Regions from separate parts of the Homo sapiens genome. Here all the other regions are linked to region 4. The links are contacts of gene promoters, found by promoter capture Hi-C in blood cells and fetal thymus (Javierre and others, 2016). All regions are on one chromosome and are shown on one strand. Each heading gives the region's core, a stretch centred on a gene start or on the middle of the fragment in contact. The rest is flanking DNA. Distances are from core to core; before and after follow the strand shown.

Region 1 (2,700 bases), core at 169-2,668, 610 kb before region 4:
GCCTGTAATCCCAGCACTTTGGGAGGCTGAGACGGGCGGATCACGAGGTCAGGAGATCGAGACCATCCTGGCTAACATGGTGAAACCCCGTCTCTACTAAAAATACAAAAATTAGCCGGGCATGGTGGCGCGCGCCTGTAGTCCCAGCTACACGGGAGGCTGAGGCAGGAGAATGGCGTGAACCCGGGAGGCGGAGCTTGCAGTGAGTCGAGATCGCGCCACTGCACTCCAGCCTGGGCGACAGAGCAAAACTCCGTCTCAAAAAAAAAAAAAAAAAAAAAAAAAAAAAAAAAAAAATTAAATTAAAAAATTAAAACAAATGAAAACAAATCAAATAACCCAATTTTTAAAATGGGAAAACAAATATTTCTTTAAAGAAGACATACAAATGGCCAATAGGTGCATGAGAAAATGCTCAATATCATTAGTCATTTGGGAAATGCAAATCAAAACCTCTGTGAGATACCACTTCGTACCCACTGGGATAGGCAAAGATGTGGAGAAATTGGAACCCTCAAACATTGATGGTAGAAATGTAAAATGGTGCAGCCACTATAGAAAACAGTTTGGGGCTGGGAGCAGTGGCTCACGCCTGTAATCCCAGCACCTTGGCAGGCCAAGGAAGGCAGATCGCTTGAGGTCAGGAATTCGAGACCAGCCTGGCCAACATGGTGAGACCCCATTTCCACTAAAAGATACAAAAAATAGCCAGACGTGGTGACAAGCGCCTGTAATCCCAGCTACTCAGGAGGCTGAGGCAAGAGAAACACTTGAACCCTGGAGGCGGAAACTACAGTGAGCCGAGATTGTGCCACTGCACTTCACCCTGGGTGACATAGGGAGAGTCTTGTCTCAAAAAAAAAAAAAAAATTAAAAAAAATTTTAAAAAAGAACACAGTTTGGTGGCTCCTCAACGAGTTAAACAGAGAATTGCCACATGACTCAGCAATCCCACTTCTAAGTCTATACCCAAAAGGATTGAAAACAAACAGGTACTTAAATAGTTGTACACAAATGCTCATAGAAGCACTACTCGCAATAGACAAAAAGTGGAAATCACCCAGATATCCATCAATGGATGAATGGGTACAAAAAAATGTGAACATTATTCAGCCATTACAAAAAGTAAAGTGCTGATGCATGCTACAACATAAATAAACTTTGAAAACGTTATGGTAAGTGAAAACGGCCATACTTAAAAGGTCAAATTTTGTATGATTCTATTTATATGAATGTCCAGAATAGGCAAATCTGTAGACACAGAAAGCAGCTTGTTGGATGCCAGGGGCTGGGGAGGGTGGAGGGATAATGGCAAGTGACCACTAGAGAGTATGGGGTTTCATTTCGGGGTGATGAAAATGTCCTGGAATTAGATAGTGGTAACGGTTGCACAACTCTGTGAATACACTAGAAAACACTAAATGTTGTATTTTAAAAAGGTGAGTGATATGTTATGTGAATCATATCTCAATTGAACAAAAGAAGGCTGTAGGCTGGGCATGGTGGCTCACGCCTGTAATCCCAGCACTTTGGGAGGCCGAGGCAGGCGGATCACCTGAGGTCAGGAGTTCAAGACCAGTCTGGCTAACATGGTGAAACCCCGTCTCTACTAAAAAGTACAAAAATTAGCCTGGAGTGGTAGTGTGTACCTGTAATCCCAGGTACTCAGGAGGCTGAGGCAGGAGAATCGCTTGAACCGGGAGGCGGAGGTTGCAGCCACTGCACTCCAGTCCAGTCGACAGAGCAAGACTCTGTTTCAAAAAAAAAAAAAAAAAAAGGCTGTAAACTCCTTGGTCAATTGTGAGAACTTGTTCTCCAGCGCCCCCTATGGGGGATCACAGACTCTGTTGCCTCCATGTTGAAGGACAGGATAGCCAGGGACCTGGAACAAGAGCCCTGGCAAAGTAGCTTGAGCAAAAGGGAAGATTTGCCAGATAGATGCAGAAATATCTGATGGTACCTGAGGGCAGCCAGGGCAGGACTTTCAAGGCAGTGAAGACACAAAGGGGGAAGCTGGCCGGAGCCCAGGCAGCCCCTCTCCCAGCCTCCTTCCTTTCTCTGCCCCAACCTCCTCAGGCTCCAGGGACTTCTGTTTTTCTCTGTTATGTAAGAATCCTCATGACCAGTCTGAAGGTTCTGTCTGCTTATCGGTGGCTCACCAGTGGAGCCCTGGAAACACCCGACCCTGGCACTCTATGTTCCAGCTCTAGGAGATAGTGGACCTGCCTGGCTTCTGGATTAATTCTCCGTGGTCAAACGTCCACTCAAAGTCCGATCAGCTGGACCTCAGAAGAGGCTGGAAATGGGCTGCTCCTCTTGGATCCTAAGGATGGTTTGTGTCACTAAGCAGGAGACAGACAGGGCTGAAGAACACAGAAACCAGGAACTCAAATATGCTGTGTCTCTTCTCTCTGTTTCCCTCCCTCTCAGCTCTCTCCCTGCACTGCACACTGGCAGCAGCTCCAGACCTGCACACCCTGGAGAAGGAAGGATTGGGATTCTTCCACTTCCAACCCAGTGAATCTGAGGGAAGAACTCTGCCTAATCCAGCTTGTCCTGAGGTCAAAGAAGCCCCAGAGGAAGGGTGATAATACTGCTAGGGCCCCCTCTATAGGCGTGTGCATGGGGTGGAACAGTTCCCAAGAAGGGGAGGGGAAGGCACAACTACAGTCATCTACTACAAGATCTATAAAAGCTGGG
Region 2 (2,700 bases), core at 93-2,592, 830 kb before region 4:
GGTGAAGTGTTGGCTCTCCAGCAGACATTTTACGAGGCTCTGTGCTCAGTCGGCTCACGCTGCAAAAATAAGAATCGGCCAGGATGCCTTCGGAGGCAGCGCCTGAGGGTCCTCGACTTCAAGCTGCTCCTTTGTCAGAATGCAGCCCTGATGCCTCCAGCGCGTAGAGACCCCACGGGCACTGGTGATGCCACCATTGCGGCAGGGTGCCCTTCGCAAAGGTGGTGGGTGCCGAATAGACTTCTGACAAGTGTTTGCTGGCAAGCTGGCTAGAGGAGAGAGGTGGATTTGCACCAGAGGGCAGGAAGCAGCCTTTCAGGAGATGCCTGGTTGTGAGGACCTTGTACAAGACCTTGGAGAAAGAGCCCCTTGATAGGGACTAAGAGGAGGCTGCCTGGGGTCCTGAGCATGTGGTTTTGGTATTGGTGTCTTCGAAGCCAAGCCATGGTGCGGTGGGCACCAGATAGGTACCAGTTCCTGGGTCGAGAAGCCCTCTGGGGGGAAACTAGGAGAGGTCAGCTGGCACTTCTTTAGACGGGTTTCAGGAGACTGTCATTCCTGCAGTGGGGACCCAGTCCCTTCGCCCTTGACCATCAGGCGAGACTGCCAGATGAGTGTTGAGCAGGGCTGATGGCTCTTCCAGCAGGAAGGCTTTGTGTGGCAGGTGGCATGGAGTTGGTGCCAGTGTGCTTCTCATTGGCCCATCTTTGAGAGTGGCCACAGAAATTGGGCTGAGGAGAGAAATCAGGCTGAGAGTCAGAAATCTGGCTGAGGAGTGAGTTGGGGTGAAAAGGCCGTGCCATCCTGAAGTCAGGGTGACCCCAGATGTTACGTGGGGGCTCCGGCTCCCCCAGTTATGGGGCTCTGGGCCTGAAGCTTATCTCCCATCTGCTATGGAGGAAAGGCCCTGTCCCAGGGGTTGCGTGGAAGGGTGACTCTTGGAGTCCACGTGGCTCCTAACAAGCCTTTCCCCTTTTTTTGTGTATAAGCCAGGCAGTGACTACCCTCCAACTAGCTGGATTCAAGTCCCCTTCTGAGCTATTTTTATCCTGAACTTCCTTAGTGAGAAACCACCAAACGGCGATGCTTTGGTGAGAATCTAGGTCTTTACCGGAAGCGCAGCCTGCACAGAGTTTACACCTCGCTACATAAGGCTGCCTCCACTGCCCTGCACAGCCCTCCCCTGGCTCAGAGCCCCTGTGCCTCTCTCATGCCTCTTGATTCTCATCACAGCCTGTGCGCTCAGGGACTTTTGAGCCCCAGTTTCAGATGGGAAAACTGATGTGCCCGAGATCATCCAGTTGGGGATGTAGGAGGCCAGGCCTGGCTCCAACAGGAGCAAGACCTTGATGCCAGTGGGCTCCCTGAAGGCAGGGACCACGTGTTTCTCATCACCGTATGCCCCAGTGCCAACTGTGGTGCCTGGCGGATGGTGGGTGCCCAGTGGCTGCTGAATGATGATGGCACGAGTGGAAGGCTGGTTGGGTGTGTTTTCCCCATTGGAGTTGGGACGGGGTCGGGGGGCAGAGGGATTGAAAGAGCACTTCCAGATCTCAGTCTGCATTGGTTGAGCACCCAGTCCATGCAGTCCCTGGGAACTCTGAGATGAGTCCCTAGTCTGGAGTCAGGCAGCTAGAGGGAGAAAGGTGCTTCCACAGAGGTTCTGCGGAAGTCCTGCCCGGGGCTTCCTGAATGTTGCCCCAGGGAGTAAGGAGTGACTGAGCTGGGTCTAAGATGACGCCATTCAGTACAGTAGCCACTGGCCACATGTGGCTGTTTGTGAATTTCAATTAATTAAAGGGATGAGTTAAGCTTATCCTTGGCACTAACCACATTCAAGCACTCAGTAGCCACCGAAGGCTGGTAGCCGCCTTGTTGGGCAGCTCAGACTCTAGAACATGTCCACCACAACAGGAAGCTCCATGGACGACAGACAGCGCTGTCCAGGAGGATAGACTTAAGACAGAGGTGCAGTGAGGACACTAGCTCAGAGCCCACAAGTGTAACAGTGCAGGCGAGTCTGTTAGATAAAGAGACCTCCTGTTTCTCTAGCATTTGTTTTGTGGCAGCCTGCTGCGGGGAAGGAGTAGACCAGCCAGGCATTCCCATTTAACACAGGAGAAAACTGAGGTTCACTTTTGCCCAAGGTCATCCAGCAAGAGGGTGGCATGAGTCCCAGGTCTCCAACCCCTTGGCCAGCACTCTGTCATCCAGCAGAGGTCAGCCAGGGGGCACGAGTGGGCAGCGGTCCCAGGAGCAGCCTCAGACCTCCCTGAGGGACAGTCTTGGTGCCAGTAGGCGTCAGTCCCTGTGAAGTCATCCATTGATCGGGCGGGAGCGCCAGCTCAGCCTCGGGTCCTCAGGAACAGAGAGTTCTGTGCTGGCAGAGCTGGAAGGAGCGGGCGCGAGGCTCTCTGGGCAAGGGAGGTGTTTACCTTGAGCGATGCGGCATGGGTCCCTCGGGAGAGGCTGGCTCCTCCATGGGGAAGGAACTCCTCAGTGGGGCCTGTGGCTGGGATCCTTAGCACCACCTCAGAGAGAGGGGTACAGGCCCGAACCCAGCAGGGAGAAGGATTTCGGGACCTTTGACTGGTACAGAGTGCACCTCACCCTTGCTCTTGCCCCGCCACACCGTGTCACAGAGCATCTGCTGGGCCTCCCTCGCCCTCCTTCCCCAAGCCTCGGCTGCAGGAGGAAACT
Region 3 (2,700 bases), core at 136-2,635, 670 kb before region 4:
GGAGCCAGGCTGACTGTTGCACAGTAACCATGCCACACACAGGGCTGGGAGCGCCAGTCCACATTCCCCAGCAGGAAGTGAAGGCTCATTCTGAAGCCATACGGCTGTGCTCGTCTTTCTGATTCCAGATTCCTGAGCCCCTGCTTCTAGAGCACACGCTCTTCTTCGCTCACGAGAGCACGCACAGGACCATCGGGGCATTGGTACACTGCACGCTGCTGCCCTGGCCCCAGAGTCTCAGAATCAATAGGTCTGGGGAGGGCCTGAGAACCAGAGTCTCAAATGCCTGGGCGGTGCAGCTGCTGCTGGTCTGGGGACCCACCTAGGGAGCCACCGCCCCAGTGATCCTGGTCACAGTCTGTTAAAGTCCAGTCAGATACTGTCACCTCCATGCTGTCCCCATCTGCCCATTCTACAGCCCAGGAAACTGAGGCACAGAGAAGGCAAGTGACTTGCTCAAGCCATACAGGAAGTTAGGGTCAGAGCTGGGAGTGGAGCGCAGGGCTCCTCACCCCAGGAGCTGGGCTGGTTGCAGGACAGTGAGGCTGCTGGGCTTGAGAGGGGAAAGCCTGGATTGGGGGAGAAAGGCCCATCTCTTTAAAAGCAAGACCGGCGGTGGTGTCAGTGGCGGCGGGGTACTGGGGAGGGCTGGCCTGGCTCTCCTGGCCCAGCCCCAAACCTGTGACTCCTCAGCATCTGGAAACCATCACCGGGAACAATGATCATGGAGCAGGAGGCCGGGCTGCTCAGGGGCTCCAGCCCTGTCTGTTCAGGAAGGCAAAGGAACACAGAGCCTGCAGGCACCTCCTGCCCCCACCTCCACCACCGATGTTTGCCTTGGCACCAACACACACAGCTCCCAGTGGGCCCAGCTGTTGGGAAAAGTCAGCCCCTGAGCTACAGATGTGGAGGCTGGTGGCAAGATTGGGTGCCCAGAAGCCTGGACGGAAGCCAGTTGACCCCAGCTTAGCTCCCTGCTCTGCCTGCACGACTCCTGGCTTATGATTATAGCACTCTGGGCCTCAGTTTCCCTGCAGGGAGCTCAGGGACTACCCAGGTTAGGCCAGCTGCTTACTATATACTGGCATGTATCTGACCAGCTTGATGCCTGGATCCCAGGTGCCCCCAGGGATCCCGCTTGTTGTCTGCAGGCCAAACAACCAGCCAGGGAGCAGGGAAGGCTTTGGAGCACCAATCACCACGTGCATTTACTTCCTTTCCACATGTGCCCTCGACAACTATGAATTAGGCACCCACAAGGCACTGGAGGAGGGTGGTTAACAAGACAGATGCAACCCCGGCCCCCATGAACTTACAGCCAGGCGCGGAAGAAAAGTAAGTATCCCATTCAGATCATTAAAGCTGTGATGAGAGATATGAAGGAATGGGGTGTCGTGGCAGAGGAGAATGGGGATCCCCTCTTCACAGTGAGAAGCCATACAGAAGGTCTGTTCAGGGCAGTCAACCATTCCCATTCCCAGTCTCTGACGGTTCACAGCCTAAACTGCAAAAGGTGGGTGTTTCTGACCTCCTTCCTGTCCCTGACCCAGTCCCTACACACTGCCACCAGCAAGCTCTGTGACCTGGGATAAGCCCCTTCCCTGCCTGGGTCTCAGTTTCCCCATCTGTCCATGATGGGGGGATAAAGTAAAATCAGGAAAGGCAAATACTTCTCCCTGTGTGTCCACTCGTAACTTGCCACAAAACTACTGTGGTGTGAAGGATTCTGCAGCTATATCCAAGCTCGACAGGCAAGAATGGTGTGATTTTCGTGGTGCCTGCCCTGCCATGGCCGGGGGCAGCAGGCACACATGACTTGAGTTGGCATTCCTGACCTAGATGATCCCTAAAGATCCTTCCAATGCAAATAGTTCCATGAGTAGACAGCACACAGGCTTGAGAAGTGGACAGAGTCCAAGTCCTGGCCACTGCTTCTGCACACCTCTGGGCATGTAACAGAGGCTAGTTTTTGCCAGGCTTGGGCCACTTGGGTGCTGGGCTTTCAAAGCACAACCCTGGCTGCGGAAGCTCTTTAGAACTGTGACTCTTCCTCCAGGGAGCCTTTCCTACCAGCACTTCTAGCAGACATCTCCCCTGCCCTCCAGGGACCCCCTGTACCTTGTGGATCTCTGTAGGAAGCACTTAGGATACACCCCTCTCAGCTCATGTGTCTGTCACCTCCTTCCCTGCCCTCTCCTCAGGGACAGAGACCCTGTAGGGGTCCCCTCTGATTCCCTGGGCCCAGCGTGGGTCTGGCACAGGACAGGGGGCTCTGGGGAGCAGGTGAAGGGCAAGTGACCATTTGGACATGACTATCAGCCTGAGAGAAGTATCTGGAAGAGAAAGCCAGAGGGGTAGGGGAGGTGTGGGGATGGGGCAGGCAGCGGCCTGGCAACTTCCTGGGCAAGCATGCTGGTCGCTGTTCCTGGTCCTCAGTGTGGCTATTGTCCCTGATGGTCCAGGGAACGGGCTCAATAGGGCCTCTGTCCCTCCCTGAGCAGGCCAGCCCAGCTCAGTGGTGTCCCACCCGGGCAGCTGGAAGGCGAGGGCCGACACTTCCTGTCCCCACTGCGAGTGTTTGGAGGAGCAGGGGGAGGACGGGGGCTCTCAAGACAAGCACCCATCTGTGTCCCCCAGAGAAGAGCTGCCCAGCTGGGGGAGGAGGCGGGAGAAGGGAGAGCAAGGCAGGGGATGCGTTCA
Region 4 (2,700 bases), core at 60-2,559:
ACCCCCAGCTAATTTTTTGTATTTTAGTAGAGACAGGGTTTCACCATGTTCTCCAGGGTGGTCTCGAACTCCTGAGCGATCCACCCACCTCGGCCTCCAAAAGTGCCAGGATTATAGGCTTGAGCCACTGCGCTTGGCCAGTAACCCATTTTTAAGGCCCAGGTGAAATAGTTTTTCTATTTCTATGATTTTCTATTTCTATGATTAAATAGTGTTTAATCAGACACTTCAGCTGCATATACCTCCCACAGCTCATTGATGATACAACAGTTCGCACAGGGCCTGGCACACATGCTAAAGGCTCAGCAGTATTGATAATCACCCACACTTACAAAGCACTATGGGCCAGACACTGCTGTGCTTTCTTTACAGATATCAACTCATTTAACCCACCCTAAAAACCCTGAGGTTCCCAAAACTGGCATATCCTCATGTTACAGATACAGAAACTAAGACACAGCCGGGCTAAGTAATTAATCTAAGCTTACACAAATAGCCGAGACAGAGCCAGGACTTAAATCCAGGCAGCCTGTTTCACAGTCCCTGCTCATAACCATGGTGCTGTATAGTTCCAAACATCTTAACTAATGAGGACAGCATTATTTCTCAAGGTGCACAGCACAGAGAACTTCAAAAATTAGACTCTTAGTAAAACACCATCTTTTTTTTTTTTTTTTGAGACAGGGTCTTGCTGTGTTGCCCAGGCTGGAGTGCAGTGGCGTGATCTGGGCCCACTGCAACCTGCACCTCTCAGGTTCAAGAGAGTCTTGTCTCAGCCTCTGGAGTTGCTGGGACTACAGGCAGGCACCACCGCGCCCAGCAAATTTTTTGTATTTTTAGTACAGACGGGGTTTCACCATGTTGACCACGCTGGTCTCAAACTCCTGACCTCAAGTGATCTGCCCGACTCGGCCTCCCAAATTGCTGGAATTTATTCCAACACCTCATTCATTCATTCATTCATTCGAGACAGAGTCTAGCTATGTTACCCGGGCTGGTCTCAAACTCCTGGGCTCAAGGGATCTTTCTACCTCAGCCTCCCAACGTGCTGAGATTACAGGGACACGCCACCGCGCCAGCCCGAACATCTTTATCTTAAACCCAGAAAAGTGACAGGAGTGTCTCCCCTACAAGATGATGACCAGCCCTCCAGACCTGAGCCCAGGTGTGATTCCAAGGCCCCTGTACTGGGGCCAGACAGGGAGACTCGCTCTCAGGGACTTCCCAACCAGCACCATCTTCTCCCTGCGGGGATGGCGAGGGAGCGCGGGCCGGCCCCGGCCCTGCCTCCGCGCTCGCGCTCGACGGTGTCCTGAAGCGCGCTCCCGGGGAGGTGTTGCAGCCATGGCTACGGCAGCCGGCGCGACCTACTTTCAGCGAGGCAGTCTGTTCTGGTTCACAGTCATCACCCTCAGCTTTGGCTACTACACAGTAAGGACAGCCGCTGGAGCGCTACGGTCTGACGAACGAGCGAGCGCTCGGTTCACCCCAGGACCTGGGCTCACAGGCCGCGGGCCGGGGGAAGTCGTGCAAGCACAATCCCGACTCCCGCGCGCTAGGAGCGGAGGGGAGGGGACCAGACTCCGCAATGAGAGCAAGCATACTGGTCCGCCAGGGTCTTGGGCGGGCGCCCAGGGCCCTGAGAAACCGGCTAGCCAGGCTTTTCTTATATGGGGGCGGGGACGGCTGGGGAGCTCCCAGCCAACTCTGTGTCTGGGTTTTTCAAGAGGATGGTGAAGTCGGAGGCCAGCAATGCGGCTACCGCCTATTTCCGTCCAGCAAGACCCTTGCCCTCTCTGGTCACAGTCCTGGGGCTGGGCTACTTCGCGGTGAGGCGTGGGGTGGGGCGGGGCGGGCCTCTGTTTTGGCCCGCCGGGCCCTCGTAGGGCGAGGGGAGCTCTGGGAACGGGGCCTGTGCGCACGCGCATCTGACGGTTGTCTCGGTTACTCATGTAAGCGGAAATTCGGTGGGCTCTTAGGATAGTTTCTGCTTTCTAGTGTTCCTGTCTTTGGGTCCTCACCTCTGCATGGTTACTAACGGGTTATCCGAGCCTAAGCCTCTCACGAAGCGGAAAGTCAAGTTAACAGACTGCCATAGGCCTGCCAAGTCAGAATAGGGCTTCCGAAGCAGAATGTTTGAGCCAATAGGAATTGTTTGGAAAACGGGGATAAATCTAAAGGATGGGTAGGATTTAAGTGGTAAGGGAGGATAAAGAGGCTATAACTGTTCTGACATAGGTGTGGAAGCAAGAAGAAAGCTGTACCTAGAAAAAGAGCGACGTTTGTTTGGCTGAGAAATAATCTGTTTAAAGGATAACGAGAAAGATGCGTGGAAAAGTAGGTTGGGGGCTAAGGTGGTAGTTTTGTGTTTTTTTGAGACGGAGTCTCGCTCTGTCACCCAGGCTGGAGTGCAGTGGGGCGATCTCGGCTCACTGCAACCTCTGCTTCCCAGGTTCAAGCGATTCTCATGTCTTTACCTGTAGCTGGGATTACACTATGCCCAGCTATTTTTTTGTGTTTTTAGTAGACATGGGTATTGGTGAGGCTGGCCTCGAACTCCTAACGTCAAGTGATAAGGTGGTAAAATTTTGAAGGAAGGCGAAGCTATTTGGGTATACCAATAGATCCTGGAGATTGGAGATTTGTCTTGTCCACAGTGTTGTTTGTTGGTGTCAAATCTGACAACCTATGTCCTGATTT
Region 5 (2,700 bases), core at 124-2,623, 710 kb before region 4:
CTGACTTAAACAATCCCCAAAAACAATAATAAAATAGGAGTACTCACACTTCCTGATTTCAAAACTTATGAAAGCAATGATAATAAAGACAGTGTGGTATTGGCAGAAGGATAGATATGAGTAGAATTGAGATTACAGAAATAAACTCATACATCTATGGTCAACTGATTTTCAACAAAGATGCCAAGAGCATTCAGTGGGAAAAGAATAATCTTAACAAGTGGTGCTGGGACAACTGGATAATCACATAGAAAAGTATAAATCTCAACCCTTACCTCACATCATAAACAAAAATTAACTCAAAATGATCAAAGAAGCCTAAACCCCCCAAATAAAGCAAGACCCCCATCTCTACAAACAAATTAAAACGTAGCCAGTTGTAGTGGCACACCTATAGTACCAGCTACTCAGGAGACTGAGGCGGGAGGATCACTTGAGCCCAGCATTTTGAGGCTGTACTGAGCCATGATGGCACCACTGCACCTCAGCTTGGGCCACAGAGTGAGACCCTCTCTAAAATAACAAAAACAACAACAACAAAAATGGATGAAAGACCTAAACATAAGGGCATAACTAGATAACTTTTTAAAGAAAATATAGGGATAAATTTTTGTGACATGTGCAAACATCGTGTCTTATTCCTGATCTTAAGAGGAAAGCATCCAGTCTTTCAGATTTGCCAAATGATTCATAGATATGAAAACAAAGCATGAGCAACAGAAGGGAACAAAAATAGAAAAAGATAGATTAAGACTTCATCAAAATTTAAAACTTTTGTGGTTCTCCCACACAATGGAAGAAAATATTTGCAAATCATATATCAGATAAGGGACTTGTTTTTAGAATATATGAAGAGCTCTGACAACTCCATGATAAAAAGACAAATATCCCAATTTTAAAACATGCAAAAGATTTGAACAGACATTTCTCCAAAGAAGATGTACGATTGGCCAATAAGCACATGAGAAGATGCTCAACCTCATTAGTCACCAGGGAAACACAAATCAAACCCACAATGAGATACCGCTTTATACCCGCTAGGGTGGTTAGATTAAAAAGTCAGATAATAGTAAATGTTTGCAAAGATGTGGAGAATTTGAAACTCTCGAGCATTGCTGTGGGATACAAAATGGTCCAACTGCTTTGGAAAACTGCCTGGCAGTTTCTGAGATGATTAAAGATAGAGTTATCCTATGACCCAGCAATACCATTCCTAGGTATGCACCCAAGAGAAATGAAAACGCATCCATAGAAAAACCTGTACACAAACTTTTATAGCAGCGTTATTCATAACGGTCAAAAGGTAGAAACAACCCAAATGTCCATCCATGGGCAAATGGATAAAGAAAATGTGGCATAGCCATACAATGAAATAGTATTTGGTTATAAAAAGAAATGAAGTACTGATACCTGCTACAACCTGGATGAATCTTGAAAACATTATACTATGTGAAAGAAGTCAGTCACAAAAGACAACATAGTATATGATTCCATATGACGTGCCCAGAATAGATAAATCCATAGAGATGGAAAATAGATTAGTGGTTGTTTAGGGTTGAAGAGAGTAGATGGGGCAGGGTATCAATGCATGTTGGCTGAAGTTACAAGGGTTCTTTATGGGATGATAAAAATGTTCTAAAATTGACTTTTGTGATTGTTGCATATATCTGTGAATATACTATCAACATTTTCATGGGTAAATTGTATAGTGTGTGAACTATATCTCAGTAAATCTGTTTAAAAATATGTATAGACAGTCCCTGACTTATGATGGTTCAACTTACAGTTTTTTCAGCTTTACAATATGCATTCAGTAGAAACTGTACTTTGAGTACCCATAGGACTATTCTGTTTTTACTTTTGGTACAGTATTCCATAAATCACATGAAATATTCAGCACTTTCTTATAAGAAAGGATTTGTGTTAGATGATTTTGCCCAACTGTGGGCTAATGTAAATGTTCTGAGCACATTTAAGGTAGGCCAGGCTAAACTCTGATGTTTGGTAGGTTAGGGGTATTAAATGCATTCTCAACTTATGACATTTTCAATTTACATTGGGCTTATCAGGATGTAACCCCATCACAAGTTGAGGAGCATCTATATTAGCAAAGTCTCACAATTCTTTGGGTGTGTAAGCTGTTTCCTCTGGAATCCTGCTGTTCCTCTGGAAAATGCTGAGATTCGACACCTATTATGGGTCTGGGGAGTGATTGTAGCAGGCCTTGAGCATCCCCTTTCAAACCTTATGAGGTTATCACAGTGCTTTTAAGCAAAGAAGTGTCTTTTCCTCAGACACAGGAGAGCAAGCTAATTCCATTGGTAAGGAAGAAACAGAGTAGCTTGAGGGTTCAAGTTGTTGGTTTCATTTTGATCCAATCAGGCGACTCCATTCCAAATTTCAGGATCTCATTTGAGACAAAGTCTCACTCTCTTGCTCAGGCTGGAGGGTGGTGGCATAATCAAGTCAAGTCACTGCAACCTTGACTTCCTGGGCTCAAGTGATCCTCCTGCCTCAGCCTCTCGAGTACCTGGGACTACAGTTATGCACCACCATGCCTGGCTAAATAAATTTTATTTTATATTTTATTTTATTTTATTTTTGTTTAGTAGGGAAGAGGTCTCACTATGTTGTCCAGGCTGGGATCTCATTCTTTTTGTATTTTCTGTTTGTTTGTTTGTTTGTTCATTTTTTCAGATG
Region 6 (2,726 bases), core at 66-2,565, 730 kb before region 4:
TGACCAAGCTTGCTGAGACAGCAGATCCAGGACTGGCTGTGCATGGAGCAATGGGATCTTCCAGGAGTCCTGGCTGGGGTGGGGTACTATGGGTATGAGTTATCCACTGCACATGGCAAATGACCCAACACTTAGTGGCTTCAAACAACAAACATGGATTATCTTGCAGATACTCCCAGAAGGCAAGCTCTGCTGAGTTGTGAGTTGCAGGGGGCTGTGGCCAGGCAGGTTGTGTGAGAGCCCAGCAGCTGAGGGTGAGCCACACCCTACTGAGCTCCACCCTACCACACTGGCTCCGCTCTCAGTGGCCCGCAGTGATCCAGATCACACGAGTAAAAGACCAGCTGGACTCCAGAGGAGAGCTTCGCCCCATCTTCCCCTTGTGGGTCTCTCTCTGATCACTGTGCCCACCACCTCCCTGGGCCTTAGTGGAACCTCCCTTCTCTGCCTCTGCCTCCCCATCATGGTCTGGTTCTTAGAAGCCAGCAGAGAGAGGATGATGAATGTACTGACTTTGCAAAGGCCACGGGGGACACTCCATCCCCAGAGAGTCCCACAGCAACCCAGTAGAAGGGTCTGGTGGCTTTCTGAGTCGCGGGGAACCTCTCTCTCAGTTTCCCTTCCCATGACAGATGCTATCCTGGACCCCAAACCCCTCAAGCATAACCAGACAGATGAAGTCCATGGCCTCATCCTACCTAAGGACCATTGTCTAGGCTGGCAGCACAGGTTGTATGACCCAGTGACTGGCACTGGTAATGATCTCAGCCTTCATGATATTTAATATTATAGAAACCCCACCTCATGCCCACACCGGGGCTACCTTCACCCCCAGCCCCTCCTGGAGGGTCTCTCCAGAACAACTGTAACTTTGTACCCCACGACAACCACAGCGTTCACTCCTGCCACACACAGGGCTACCTGGGAGAGGTTTGTTCAGCAGTTCCAGCATCTCAGGACACCATAACCTCCTGTCCCTGTCTTTGTCCTTCTGAATCCCCAGGGTGAAGCTCAGGGCTCAGAACACAGTAGGTGCTCTGAAAACATGTCTGCTGAGTGAACTTTGCAGAAAGGGCCCTGGGGAGAGTGAAGAGAGGGTCTGACCACAGTCCTGGTACTGCCCAGCTGTATGGCCTCGGGCCACTCCCCATCCTTCTCTGAGCTTCAGTCCTCTCACCTGTACAGTGGAAATCAGAGCTTACAAACTATCAGCCCAGAGTCCTCATCTAGTTTGGATACGGTGTTTACAGTTCATTCGGTGTTTAATTTTATTTTGAAATTCATTTCAAAAATTTGAAAACTAGATTTCTATAAAACTTAAAGTCTTCAGCTTTTATTGAAAGATGAGAAAACCTGGGTGGCCTGTGTGGACCCATAGTCCCATATACAATAATTGGCTGGCCTGGGCAGCAGCTACCTCTTTACCTGGGACATCCATTAGCTATCTGGATACAGTGCCACCTCCCCTCACTCCCTACATACTTACCAGCTTGCACCACTCATGTGTATCACCTGCCTGGCCCCCGCAGGCATCTGAGTTTGCAACCCCTGAATGAGATTCTGAGCTTAGCACAAACTGATTGTTCTTTGGCTTTGTGAGGCCTAGAGGTGGTGTTACAGGATCCCTAGGTGACAAAACCCATCAGCACCCTGGATAAAAAACCATGTGAGCTGAGTGGAGAGAAACACTGCTGTTTCTGAGGATAACACAGTCTATAAATAGCCTCAGAGCCAGGTGAGTGCTAACACCTGCCTGATGTCACCTGGGCCCGGAGCCCTCAAGGGCTGGGCATGTGTTCAGCTCATGGCTTAGCCTATAGACTATCCTTCTTCCTGATACCACTGAGAACAGAACAGGAAGGGATGACATCATAGCTAAGCCTTTGGGGAAGGTAGGCTTTTCTCTGGCTTAGGAGGTAGTGATGACGTTTGATTTTCCAAAGAGAGTGGAAGGAGTAACATGAATGAAAGAAGCTGGTTCCCAGTCCAGAGTCCTCAGCATGGAGTCTTTGCACTATTCATGGCTCCCCAGTGCTATCCAACAATGTCAGACCTCAGCCAGGCCTTCAGAGCCCTCTGTGATTGGGTCCCCACAGGCCTTTCAGCTCATGCTCACTATTAAAACCATCTCCCTAGTCCCTGAGCTCCATAGCCCCCTGGCCAACTCCACCGTTTCTATCTTACTGTGTTGTCTGCCCAGGCTTATCTCTCTTGCCTCCCCACCCTGTCCCAAGGACCAGCTTCGTGGTGAGAGTGAGAAGGGTTTGACATGCAATAACCCTGATTGTGAAGTCAGACAGACTGGTCCCAGTTCCAACAGCCTGCCCTTGGGCAATTCACTCCCCAGCCCCTGGGGCCTGGCTTCCCCATCTGCAAAACAGAGCTGTCTCTCAGGCAGAGTTCACAGCTGGGAAAGGGTTCTGAGAACTGAAGTGGTCAAGTGAATGAAGGCAGCACTCCCCTGGGGTGGGGATGCTCATGCTTCATCAGGATGGGGCATAAACTGAGTCCCCCCAGGAGCAGGCTTGAGAAACAACAGGGTACGCTGAGCTACCTGCTGTGGCTGAAGGTCCTGTGAGCTCAGGGCCTGGAACTGGCCGCAGGGAAGCCTGGGGCCTTAAGGAAGCTTCATGACAAGGCACATGGCGTGATTCCTCCACTCTCAAATCCACAGGATGCACTGGTAGAGGAAGGTCTGGGACATGTGCTGAGGGCTCAAGTGGGCT
Region 7 (2,700 bases), core at 26-2,525, 760 kb before region 4:
AGCAAGCTCGGCCCAGAGCTTCCCTTCCGGCTGGCTCTGAACCGTGCGTGGTGCCTACAGCCTGCAGTCTGGAGACAAGCTCTTCCGGAGTGCTCTGGGAGCCAGGCCAGGGTGTGAGGGAGGTGCAGAGGCATCCGGGGCGGGAGCAAGCCCCAGGTTGTGACAGGTGCAGGTAGACAACGCCCATAAACAGAGATGGTCCTGAACTCTGGAGAGATCCTTCCCTGATCCTTTCGGACGACTACTTGGAGCCATAAGTAACCTCAGCAAAAACGAGGCCTCTGCAAGCCACTTTTCCATGCCAAGCATCCACCCGGCCCACAGGCATGTTTCTGCCGCCACTCCGCAAGATGGACAGGGAGCCAGCAGGCAGGCGGGAAGGGCCAAGTACAGGCAATCACCCCCATCTTCTTGGTTTGAAGCTTTATCCATGTATCATGTTCCGTGTAGCCATTTTATTTTTTAAGAAACTGCTAATACTTTCTCCCTAATGGAAGCCCTGATCCCCCAGAGAGCTACAGGTCTGCTCCCGACGGGCCTCGGGCCTGACCCGTCCACACAGGGCCGTGTCAACAGCAGCGACTCAAGGGACGTGTGTACATATGTAAATGAGAAATAGAGACGTGTCAACAGATGCATTCATTTCTCTTGGAATGTGTATTGTTTTTATTTTGCGAAACAAAACAAAACAAAAAAAAAAGCTTGGAACTCCATCACGTGGAAAAACTAGATCCTGTTGGTTATAGCATTTGTGAGTTCTCCACGTCTGTCTCTCTCGCTCATGTAATATACTCTGACCCTGAGTGGAAAGGGGTTTTTGTTCTGTTTTTATTTTACCTACATGTACTATTTAGCTTCAGTGTACTAGTCCTGCCACCTGTGTATTTTTAGGGTGCTATGGAAATAATGAAAAGAAACGGGGATTTCAGAAGAAAATTGTAACCAAATTCATACTTTGTATAATTTTTGATATCATGATCACAGGTGATTCACACGTACACACATAAACACACCCACCAGTGCAGCCTGAAGTAACTCCCACAGAAACCATCATCGTCTTTGTACATCGTATGTACAATGCAATCATTTCATACTTTAAACTGGTCAAAAAACTAATTGTGATTTCTAGTCTTGCAAAGCTGTATGTAGTTAGATGATGTGACAACCTCTAATATTTATCTAATAAATATGTATTCAGATGAAACCTGTATATTAGGTGTTCATGTGGTTATTTTGTATTTAAAGATCAAATTATTTGACTATTGCTAGACATTTCTATACTCTGTTGTAACACTGAGGTATCTCATTTGCCCATGTTAATTTTTTTCTAAATAAATTGACAAAAACAAAGGTTTGGCGAATTAGCTATTTTGTGGATGTTAAGGAGTGGTTTGGGTGTTTTTGCTTTTGTTTTAAACCACACCCCCCGCCCTGTTACCCTCTGCACACACAAAAAAGAAAGGCAGGTGGTTTGGGTGTTGAATTGGAAGAACCCCTGTCCATGGGGGTCCCTGGAACCAGTCCCTGGTGGGGCAAGTGCAGTGTGTGGCCGGATGGTTGGGGGAGTTGGGGTGGCTGAATAGGGCCAGGTGGCTGCAGGGTGCTAGGGGCCCCTGTGGCATGTGACTCAGAGTGTGCAACAGTGTCCCATCTTTGATGGTCCCTTGTGGATTATGCTGGGTTTAAGTAGCAGGAAGCTATTCATATTAAGCCACAGAGGGTGCTGTTCAGAGCACACAGGAGTGTGGCTTCAATGGAGAGTGAGCATTCACTGCACCCATGGCTCCCTGCTGGCATCTCAGCATCCCTGGCCTCCACCTCTCGGTACACCTGCCCCTCCCCTCCTAGGGAAGCTTGGGTTTTCCCTCCTCCGTGAGCATGCTTTACATGGGGTACTGTCTCACGATAGCCCCTGCCCAGGCCATGGTTCTAACCATCCTTCCAGCCTCGGCACCAACACAAACTGACAACACTTGATGTGTCTCCGATTGAAGTTTTAGGAACATGCATCTGACACAGCCCCGCAGCCAGTCCCTGCCCTCCCTCCACGCAGCCTCACCTTAGGGGGAAAGCAAATGTGGCTGTCATGGCCTTTCCTCCACAGGGACTGTCCACAGAGGGAAGAAGGGCCGGGCCGGCACCCCAGAGATCTCCACTCAGATGTATCCGGGTGTCAGGAGAGTGAGGGGCATGTGTGTGCAGGAGCCGGCGGTGTGGGGGAGGCTGCAGGGTGCTGCCTGTAGGGGGCTGGGTGCCTAGAAGCCCCCTGCTCCTGGGGCCTCTCCGAGGTGGCTGGAGTTTCTCCTTTTGGAGGGAGGTGGAAGGTGAGGAGGAGAAAAGATTTACCTTAAATAATGGAACACCCACCGGCCACTGCTCAGCTGCAGGCACTGCCTTCTGCCAGCATCACCAGGACAGGCTGACTCTCTCTGAACAGACACCCCTCCGAGAGGAGGGTGATTAGTTAGCTTGAGGGAGAACTTCCCGTAGGAGACATGCCCCCCTCCCTGTGCCTTAGAGCAGTGTGGTGGGGCTGGACCAGCACTTTAATAAAACAAATGAGAATACAGTAGAAAATATCAGGAGTGTGCCCTACAAAGTAAAGGGTAGCATTCTATCAAGAAACGTGTGTGTGTGTGTGTGTGTGTGTGTGTGTGTGTGTGTGTGTGTCTGCTGAGTCATGATGTTAATTCTTATTTG

What was found. Contacts are between HindIII fragments. The CHiCAGO score rates a contact against its expected background, and 5 or more counts as called.
Region 1: a contact is called between a fragment that was not itself captured here and the fragment with the promoter of TMEM254 in region 4, in 1 of 17 cell types (M2 macrophages). The highest score is 5.5, in M2 macrophages.
Region 2: a fragment that was not itself captured here is called in contact with the fragment with the promoter of TMEM254 in region 4 in 2 of 17 cell types (total B cells and activated CD4 T cells); the score reaches 8.0 in total B cells.
Region 3: a fragment that was not itself captured here is called in contact with the fragment with the promoter of TMEM254 in region 4 in 1 of 17 cell types (M0 macrophages); the score reaches 5.7 in M0 macrophages.
Region 5: a fragment that was not itself captured here is called in contact with the fragment with the promoter of TMEM254 in region 4 in 1 of 17 cell types (M0 macrophages); the score reaches 5.4 in M0 macrophages.
Region 6: a contact is called between a fragment that was not itself captured here and the fragment with the promoter of TMEM254 in region 4, in 1 of 17 cell types (naive CD8 T cells). The highest score is 6.3, in naive CD8 T cells.
Region 7: a fragment that was not itself captured here is called in contact with the fragment with the promoter of TMEM254 in region 4 in 1 of 17 cell types (naive CD8 T cells); the score reaches 5.5 in naive CD8 T cells.

The regions. Positions count from the first base shown.
Region 1 is chr10:79,465,761-79,468,460 of GRCh38, forward strand. No RefSeq gene overlaps it. Among named protein-coding and RNA genes, the nearest start is that of ZCCHC24, 21 kb to the left of the region's middle. The HindIII fragment of the contact is 5,662 bases long and covers 1-2,700 here.
Region 2 is chr10:79,244,010-79,246,709 of GRCh38, forward strand. All of the region lies in intron 7 of ZMIZ1 (zinc finger MIZ-type containing 1), which reads left to right. Among named protein-coding and RNA genes, the nearest start is that of PPIF, 100 kb to the right of the region's middle. RefSeq lists cis regulatory regions at 1-119, 1-123, 515-1,347, 721-1,221 and enhancers at 998-1,077, 1,248-1,377, 1,908-1,987, 2,208-2,377, 2,388-2,437 and 1 more. The HindIII fragment of the contact is 936 bases long and covers 875-1,810 here.
Region 3 is chr10:79,407,272-79,409,971 of GRCh38, forward strand. All of the region lies in intron 2 of ZCCHC24 (zinc finger CCHC-type containing 24), which reads right to left. Among named protein-coding and RNA genes, the nearest start is that of ZCCHC24, 37 kb to the right of the region's middle. The HindIII fragment of the contact is 8,416 bases long and covers 1-2,700 here.
Region 4 is chr10:80,077,356-80,080,055 of GRCh38, forward strand. TMEM254 (transmembrane protein 254) reads left to right here and starts at 1,310. Exons shown (of 4, transcript NM_025125.4): 1 at 1,310-1,431. The coding sequence starts at 1,345. TMEM254-AS1 (TMEM254 antisense RNA 1) reads right to left here and starts at 1,838. Exons shown (of 4, transcript NR_027432.1): 1 at 1,372-1,838. The HindIII fragment of the contact is 2,319 bases long and covers 482-2,700 here.
Region 5 is chr10:79,366,938-79,369,637 of GRCh38, forward strand. No RefSeq gene overlaps it. Among named protein-coding and RNA genes, the nearest start is that of PPIF, 21 kb to the left of the region's middle. The HindIII fragment of the contact is 3,581 bases long and covers 1-2,700 here.
Region 6 is chr10:79,343,173-79,345,898 of GRCh38, forward strand. No RefSeq gene overlaps it. Among named protein-coding and RNA genes, the nearest start is that of PPIF, 2.9 kb to the right of the region's middle. The HindIII fragment of the contact is 2,618 bases long and covers 7-2,624 here.
Region 7 is chr10:79,315,170-79,317,869 of GRCh38, forward strand. ZMIZ1 (zinc finger MIZ-type containing 1) reads left to right here. Exons shown (of 25, transcript NM_020338.4): 25 at 1-1,350. Among named protein-coding and RNA genes, the nearest start is that of PPIF, 31 kb to the right of the region's middle. RefSeq lists cis regulatory regions at 1,410-1,910, 1,436-1,936, 1,442-1,942, 2,125-2,625, 2,258-2,700 and 5 more and an enhancer at 2,515-2,574. The HindIII fragment of the contact is 1,152 bases long and covers 700-1,851 here.